Linked DNA regions of Homo sapiens: region 2 is linked to region 1. The links are contacts of gene promoters, found by promoter capture Hi-C in blood cells and fetal thymus (Javierre and others, 2016). All regions are on one chromosome and are shown on one strand. The core of a region is centred on a gene start or on the middle of the fragment in contact, and the rest is flanking DNA. Distances in the headings are between cores, read along the strand shown. Region 1 holds the start of PPM1M (protein phosphatase, Mg2+/Mn2+ dependent 1M). Region 2 overlaps CISH (cytokine inducible SH2 containing protein).

Evidence for each region. The method cuts DNA at HindIII sites, captures the fragments that hold promoters and counts their contacts. A CHiCAGO score of 5 or more calls a contact.
Region 2: a fragment that was not itself captured here is called in contact with the fragment with the promoter of PPM1M in region 1 in 1 of 17 cell types (activated CD4 T cells); the score reaches 6.9 in activated CD4 T cells.

Annotation. Positions count from the first base shown.
Region 1 is chr3:52,243,730-52,248,008 of GRCh38, reverse strand. PPM1M (protein phosphatase, Mg2+/Mn2+ dependent 1M) reads right to left here and starts at 2,250. Exons shown (of 10, transcript NM_144641.4): 1 at 1,961-2,250; 2 at 1,197-1,314; 3 at 781-1,035; 4 at 215-327. The coding sequence starts at 2,184. RefSeq lists silencers at 1,907-1,966, 2,007-2,376. The HindIII fragment of the contact is 3,516 bases long and covers 1,471-4,279 here.
Region 2 is chr3:50,602,532-50,606,689 of GRCh38, reverse strand. It overlaps CISH (cytokine inducible SH2 containing protein), which reads left to right. Exons shown (of 3, transcript NM_145071.4): 3 at 1-201. Among named protein-coding and RNA genes, the nearest start is that of CISH, 7.2 kb to the left of the region's middle. RefSeq lists a silencer at 1,391-1,440 and an enhancer at 3,963-4,158. The HindIII fragment of the contact is 1,494 bases long and covers 1,025-2,518 here.

The DNA.
Region 1 (4,279 bases), core at 1,001-3,500:
TGCAAGGGTGAAGGCTTAGCCCTTTAGCGGGGCCTTTGAGGTCCCTGCCCTCCCCGGCAGCCACTGTCCACACTCGACACATAACAAGTACACACACAATTCAGCCAGTCAATCCTTCCTACTATCCCTCCACTTCCAGCCACCTTTGCTTGTCCCCATTGCTGCTTATGCCCTCCCCATCCCACCCTTGCCCACCCTCCAAGGGGTGACTCACCTGCTATCCCCAGCATTGGCCATGTACAGCTTTCCCTGCAGGGACACAGCCACCAGGGCTGTGCAGCCGCCCATCTGGCCTGAGGCCTCCAGCTCCCGCCCGATCACCTCATCCTGGGGAAAACCGAGGCCACCTTAGCTGCTGCCTGTTCTGCCACCATACTACTTTGTCTCTCAATCCCCACCCTACCCTACAGTTCACTTCTACCAGCAGGCCTGACAGTCCCAGCCCAAAGTCCAGCCATACCTCCAAGATCCCTGCAGTCAGGAGATCTAGACAAGGGAAGTGCTACTCAAAATAGGAAGAGAAACCAGCCCCTGCACCAAGGACCAATAGGGTATTCAATTAGATGATGCAGGTAAAAGCAGTTAGCACACAGTAGGTGCTGGATAAATGAGAGGGGTTATGCTGATAGTGATGGCTGTTAGTAACAATCCAACCAACCCAATCTCATCCTCCCAATCCAAGGATCTGGTGTGATGACCATGGGTATACAGAGATGCCATTTCCTGAGATCCCCGGGGCAAAATCTCCACTTCTTCCCCAGCCAAAAGCCACACACTCACACATTCCTGAAAGGCACTCTCCAATGCCCCGATCACCAAGTCTTCTGCCCTGATGCCCTTTTCCTCCACAAACTGAGGGTCACTGGGGCAGATGCAGCGGCCATTGAGGTGCATGGGGGGCTGAGTGGCCACCAAGCCTTCCACCACGGCCTCCAGCTGCCGGCGCAAGCAGGAGTGCAGGGTGTTGGCAGCCAAGATGGCTGCTGCAGGACCGCCGTGCCCATCGAACAGTGCCCAGTAATGGCCTGTCAGGAACTGCACAGGAAGGGCTCAGTGTCAGCCTCTGCCTGACTTCCCCACTTGTCCCCTGACGCAACCTAACTAGGACCTGGGGCAGCAGGGTAAGAACCTCAGCCTGCAGGTCGTGGCCCCAGCCTGTCGGAGGGATTCCAGCCAAGAACTCAGACTGCACTCACCTCCTCTGGGCACAGGGTCAGCCACTCTTCTTCAGCCCCAAACTCACATCTCCGGATGCACAGCTTCCCACAGGCGGCTTGATCCTCATTGAATTCAGATTTCTCTGCATTGATAATCCTGAGGCCGGGAAATGGTAAGCGACCCTCCAGGGACACACCTATGTCCCCATGGGCACAGGGACCCAAGCCAGCACAGGGAGAAGACCCCTCCCTCTGGGGCAACAGCTCCCCAGTGCTGTCCCTAACACACACTTAGACAACCACGATGTAAGCTTCCTAACTTCACTGGCCTCATGGCTAAGGTAAAAGTCAGGGCCCAGCTCCTCTGGAGCCTACCTGGTGACCCAGGGCTAGACGGTAAGGGTAGGTTGCCATTCCTGCCCCTGTCCTGTCGCAGCCCAAAGCCCTGTCCCATACAGCGCAGGTCATACCCAGGGTGAGATGGTGGGGGTAGAGGGCGAGGGGAAATCTCCAAAGCCCCGAATGCTGGAACTCTACCGAGTCTCTGGGCCTCATCTTGGAAGCCCCTGGGCTGCAGGTCCTTCCCGACCTCCTGTCTTCTCTGAGGGGGAGGTCGGAATCCCAAGGAAAACGCTGGGTCGGGATGACCGGGAAGTTGTCAGGATTCGGAGGTGAGGGCAAGAAGGGGCTGTCCACAGGTGGGTGGGGACTGTCACTCAGCTCCTCCCGCTTTCTAGGCGGGCGCAGGACCCGAAGCGGGTTCAGGCCCGGGCCTGAGCTGGGGGTCGGGGAGGGGCACTCACTCGGCGTAGCCTGCATTCCAGGGTAGCGTGCGTCCTCGTGCGGGGCTGCGCACGGGCCGGGAGTCTGGGCGGCGCGAGGCGTCGGCCGCCCCGGGGCTGGAGCTGGAGCCGCGAAGGAAGCGGGGCCGTCGGTAGGGCACGGGGCTGGCATGCGGCCCAGGCGGCCGCGGCGCGGGGAGCGGCTCCCCAGGCAGGAAGCGGCGCCGGAACCAGCCGGCGGACATGGCGCGGCGGCAGGGGGCTGCCCGCGGAGCGCGGGGCGCTAGGGCTGGGCCGCCCGCGGGAGGAAGAAGCGGGCCGCGGGCGGAGCCGAGGGAGGGGTGCGCCGGCGGGAGGCGGGGCCGGGGGCGCGCAGACGGGAGGCGTCGCCCCCCAGCCCCGACCTCCGCCCGGGAGTGCGTGCGCGGCTGGTTCGCTGACTCCAGGGGTCAACGCTCGCGACCGCCTGAAGAAGCCCACGCCGGCATCAGCCCCATTTGACAAGCAGGAAAACCGAGGCCTAGAGAGGCGAAGTCGCCTGCCCAGCGTCCCACAGTAGCCAGGGAGGACTGTTCACCCACGCTTGCGGGGCACTGGTGGTTGAGAGGAAAAGTCCCCCACACTCCGCGGGGCCAGCGTCGCGCAGATCCTCGGACCTCCTCCTGCTGGGTGGGGACCTGACGCAAGGGGAAGATGGGGACAAAATGAGCTGGGAGGTGTCAGACCCCCACATTGAGTAAATGCCACCGAGCACAGGTTCCTTCAGGCGGCCTCCAATCCTCTCCACCCCGGCCTGCCACCCTCCACCCCAGACGGGCTTAGTGGGCACCTTGGCTTTCCCCGTCCTGAGAGGCTGCTGCCACCCTCGAGGACAGTCTTCCAAATGGCTGTCCCTGCATTCAAGATGTCTTCGCGGAATAGACAGCAGGATCCTTACTGGACTGTGAGTGAGTGACGGACAAGAGAAATCTGTGTGAGTGTAAAGGGGAATCCGTGGTCCCCCAAAGGCTCCAGCTGGTCCGAGTTCAGACCTGGGACGGAGGGAAGTGAAAGACGAGGAACCATCTTGCGGTCTCTCAACCACTGGCTAGCTGTCACCAGGCGGTCAGCCGCAGTGTCCCCTTCACATCTGCGAGTTAACAAAGCACTTTGTCACCCATTTGTCACTCAAGTCCAACTCCCTGTGCAAAAGTGTTACTTTGGCCGGAGGCAGTGGCTCACGCCTGTAATCCCAGTGCTTTGGGAGGCCGAGGCGGGCGGATCACTTGAGGTCAGGAGTTCGAGACCAGCCTGGCCAACATGGTGAAACCCCGTCTGTACTAAAAATTAGCCAAGCGTGGTGGTGTGCGCCTGTAATCCCAGTTACTCAGAAGGCTGGGGCACAAGAATCGGTTGAACCCAGGAGGCAGAAGTTGCAGTGAGCCGAGATGGAGCCACTGCACTCCAGCCAGGGCAACAGAGCGAGACTCAGTCTCAAAAAAAAGAGTGTTACATCATATGGACGATTCTGAGGCCCATGGAGGGGAAGTCTTGGACACCCAGGGCTGTACTATTTCCATTATGACAATGCAGCTGACTCAATCCTCGCCCCCAGGGCACTTCTCTTCCCCTTTCCTCCTCCAGGAAGCCAGGGCTTGCCAATTAAAAGCGGCTAAGGCTCCACAGCCCAGTGCCTGCATATGAGCTGTATGAGGAGTCCACCTTCACCTCCACTCCCTAGCCCAGGTAGACGCTCAGTAAGCCCTACTTCCTCCCAGCAGCTAGTCCTGCCCCAGTGGGAGTTCCTCGGGCCCAAGAAGGAAGGTTCTTAGGGCAGGGACCTGTGCCCAACACCCACTCCCTCCGATGACTCAGTCCCAGACCAGCCTGGGGGCTGATTGACTGAACCCACAGTGTCTGCTGGGGCCACACTGGGCACAGGAACGCAGTGCTAATGGAGACAAGCCAGGCCTCTGCCCACCAAGCCCCCTGCAGTGATGGTAGCAGTTCTGGTGGATGCTGCTTCATCCAGCTGGCAAGAGGATAGGGGCGATGTCAGAGAAAGTTTCCCAAAGGACCTCTGAGCTGTGAATTGTCACTGTGACAGAACAGAAAGGTACCAGGGTGGGGCAGGCCCAATTCAGTCTATGGGGCCACTTCCTCACCCTCACCAGTTGATGCCTCAGAGGATTTTAAAGTCTAAAATTGGACAAAACAAAGTGCATACACTCTATTCCCCAACCCACCCCTGGGTGGGGGAAAGCCTTGTCCTGAAGTATTTTCACAGAAGCTCTGGGCAACCAAATGTCATAGGCAGTCTGTTGCACAGCTTAGCCATTGTCTATTTTCAGAGCCATGTGG
Region 2 (4,158 bases), core at 522-3,021, 1.6 Mb after region 1:
GCTAGGTCTGCTTCCTGCCCAGGAAGGTGCCTGCACATGAGAGGAGAGAAATACACGTCTGATAAGACTTCATGAAATAATAATTATAGCAAAGAACAGTTTGGTGGTCTTTTCTCTTCCACTGATTTTTCTGTAATGACATTATACCTTTATTACCTCTTTATTTTATTACCTCTATAATAAAATGATACCTTTCATGTACAGAGCCCTCAATGGGGCCGATTTTCAGTTGTGTACACAGTGTGTCCCCTTTGATCTTGTTATCATTAGCCCCCATTTGATATTTGGGCTAGCGGAGAGGCCCAGAAATTCTATGTGGCTGAGCAGTCCCTGCTGGGGACTCATTAAGGAGTGGAGGAGACAGGGAGCAGCCTCTCCTCTCATCTCCCCTGGGTCCCCTTGGGAAATGGGAGCTAGGAGACAAAGGCCAGTTAGACTGCCTGCAGGGTGACTGCCCTGGCCACTGCCAGGCGAGGGCTCGGGGGAGGGTGGCAGAGGTGCATCAGCCCTGAGAGATGTGTAAACAAGAAATGCCAACTCCAAATCGCAAGTGGAGAATACCCAGGGAGAGAGAGCTGTGGACTACTCCTGGGGTCAGTGTCTTGAGATGAGGAAACTAGTAGTCAGAGAAGTCAGGGCTGGTTCTCCCAGGAAGAAGGTACAGTGAGTGCAAAGGCACCAAGGCATGACTGGGAGGCACGTGTTCCTGACACACAGAACTGAAGAGGGCTTGCTCTGTGCAGTGGGGCAGGGCAATTGAATCGGGGTAGGGGCCAGTGAGCTGGCAGAGTCTGACCTGGGGCGGAGGTGTCCGGGTTCTAGTCCAGACTGGTTGGGATTGGGGGATCCTTTCTTCTCTCTCAGGGTTCAGCACACCAAAAGTGTGTGGAAGAGCAATTTCAATGAAAACACCCTCCATTACCGGACAGTCTGACTTTGGAACACTATCTGTTGAGATCTTCCTGTGTCCCGAAGTTTTCCGCACCTTTGCTTGAGGGCCCCACAGGAAAGCTTCTCTAAAGCTTTCTAACCTTTATTCTGGAAACAATCCTAACCTTCCTGTTGTCTTAGCCCTCAAGCAATTAGAAGTCTTAGAGTAGAAGAGACACTTGTTGGCAGGTTGAGAGCAAGGAGGGGTGAGGAGTGACAGGCTGATTACAGGGAGGGGTAAGGACGAGGATAGACAGCAAGAACCATGGAGTTCACACAGGACCCTGGGGACATGGAGGCAGTCATGGCAAAGAATAGGTCTGACGTTAGGTGAGAGTGAGCAAGAGGTGGGTGATGGAGGGAGGGCTGTCTTTCCTGGATGTGGTGCCCAGACCCAGGTGGCCAGCCACGTGCCTTCCCTGTTACTGGCGGCGGCCTGAGCGCTTGGCTGTCTGTAGGGCCAGATGGCACGCTTCCTCCAGGTCACCATGACCCAGCCAGGGGTATTTACAGTTCCTCATTCCTTCAGTCTGAATTTCAGCTGCTTCATTGCTTCCAGAATGCCTGAGGTAACCCCTCTGTCTGCTTCACCCCTAGATTTGAGTCACCTAGCGGATGGGTAGTGGATACAGAGGGGCCAGTGTCAAGCTGTTCCTCACCTGGTGCTGCAGCCTGGACAGAAAGCTGCTGTGGCTAGAGGAAGCACAGAAAACTGCTTTGTACACAGAGAGAAATGTCTCAAGGTGCCTGCCAGGTGCTGGGCATGGGGCGAGGGCTTGCACCTCATGTAGCACTCACCACAACTTTGGGAGTGAAGTCCAAATATTACCCACGCTACACAGATGAGGAAACCGAGGCTCAGAGCAGGGAAGGGGCTGACCACGGCCACTCAACAAGTGGGGCTCAGGGCAGAGCTAACCCTGGGGGGTCCTGACTGACCTTTTGTCCCCCGGATTACTACATGAGATGGGGAGGACAGGGATGGTGGCTTCCAGGCAAGTTGCTCTTGGATGCTGTTTTCTATCTCCTGGTATCCCTGCCTGCTGAGAGCTCTTGGCCACTGGCCTGGCCACCAAGGTCCTGTTCTCTTCACCCTGGCCTCAGCTCAAGCCAGGGCCCGGCTCCTGTCTGGGGAGGGGCTGCCAGCTACTTCTGACCCCCAACAGGTTCCAGGTTCCATCTTCTTTTCTTGTTTCCCTGCCAGGGCAGTGAATGATGCCTGCCCAGACCCCAATCAGAGACTCAGCCTAACAGATGCTGAAGATCCTCTGGCCAACGTGATCACCACTGTGTGGTCCTGGCCTAGTAAAAGGGGCACACATGTTGACACTAGCCAGGAACAAAGGGATGAGCCTTCTGGTGGGTGCAAGGACCCTGCACAACATACAAACAGTAACGAAGGTCACACTTTATCATTAAGTCCTCCACCAGCACATGTGCTCCAAAGGCACCAACTGGGCCAGACTCCATCTAGGTCCTGGAGACAGCAGGGAACAAGACAGACACGGTCCCCATACTCATTGGGCTCGTGGGCTAGCGGGAGAGACAGAGAGTGAACTAGTGAACAAATGGGTGCATAGGACAAGCTTTGAGAGTGTAAAGAAAGAAAAGCAGTGGGGGTGGGAAGAGTAACTTTGGGAATGGGGACACCCTGCAGCTGGGAGGGCGTTGGGGATAGCTCTGCAGCTTTGGGTGGCACTGAGCCTGGAGACCCAGGCAATGAGCAGGAGCTGGCCATGCAGACAACTTGCAGAAGGGATGTCCCAGGTGAAAGGAACTACAAGTGCAGTGGCCCTGAGGCAGAGACCTAGAGCCCAGAATGGCTGCCCAGGAGGGGTGGGAAGGGCAAAGGAAGCAGGTGGATTTTATTTGAGGATGGCAAAGCACCTCTTCAGAGCCTAGCAGGGGAGTGCTGTGATCTGACCCTCATTTCTAAGGGAGGTATCTGTACTCATGAGGGCCTGGAGGCAAGAGGCCAGAAAGAAGGATCTGGAGGGTAGAGTGTGGGAGCGGGGGCAGAAAGAGGTGAGGGCAGCAACTCTGTGACTCTGGGTTGGGTTCCTACCCCACTAGCAGAGGTTGTCCTCATCTACAGCTGAAGAGGGAAGGCCTCAGAGAGGGGTGGTGAGAGGCAGAGCCAGAGTTCACATCCTGATTCCAGACATTGTTTGGAATAACCACTGCTCTATTCTGCCTCCAAGGGTCTGGCTTGCTAAAGCCTAGGCACCCACAGGTTCAGAAGGCATGCAGGAGGATGGGGAGATTCAGGAGGGCTTTCTGGAGGAGGGGGTCTGGGGGCTGGGCCCTAGAGGATTCTGCCTCCAGGTGGGAAATGGGTTTGGAGATTGATCCTGTGTGGCGTCCCTCCCTGGATTCACAAGCCTCCCTCTGGAACAACCTTCGGACAGAAATGCTGCTAAGCCATCTAGGTATTTCTTGTTGCCCCCAAGGAGTGTTTGCTGGATACCACCCCCCTTCCAGACATACCACTGGGGTATCATTGGTGCCAGTGTGTACATCTCACTAGGTCCCTGCACCTAGGCTGGACTTTTAATCTACTGACTGAGCAAATCTCTCCTGGCCAAGGCTGGACACACAGCTGAGTGGGGCTGGGGTCCATGACTAGGCCCACCTCACTCTCAGATGGGGACCCTCCCGTCCTGCACGGTTGCCCACAGTGAAGTGGAAGGCGAGGGGCCGGGGGCCTAAAGGCCTAGAGGCCTGACTACGAAGGCAGGAAGACTCAGGGTCTGTGCATAGGACATCCCAGACTTCTCCAGCTCTCATAAAGGCCCTCTTCCTCCAGGAGAAGTAGGCCCTGTGCAAGCCTGGGCAGCCTTTGACACCAACCTGCTAGACCAGTTTTAAGATAAAGTAGACTTGAGCTTTGCCGGAAATTCAACAGCCTCTCATGGTGGATGTGTCCTCCCTATCCCTCCCTGGCTCCCGTGGACCACCCAAGGGGTCACTCCAAGAGTCACTCTGGGGCAGCAGGCTGGAGTTCCCACGTCTGAGACTCAAGCTAGAGGAGGTCCCTGGAGGTTTGATTTTGGTCAGAATGCAGACCTCAGAGTGGTTGGAGAGTGGCTGGGCCTGGATGCTGGGGAATGGGGAGTGAATGGAAACCGATGCTCATCTCTGAGCAGGAGGAGACACAGCAGGCCCAGGGAAGGGGAGCTTTTCTGATGTGGTCAAAGCTTCCTGCTCAGTGGAAAGAGAGTTGCTTCC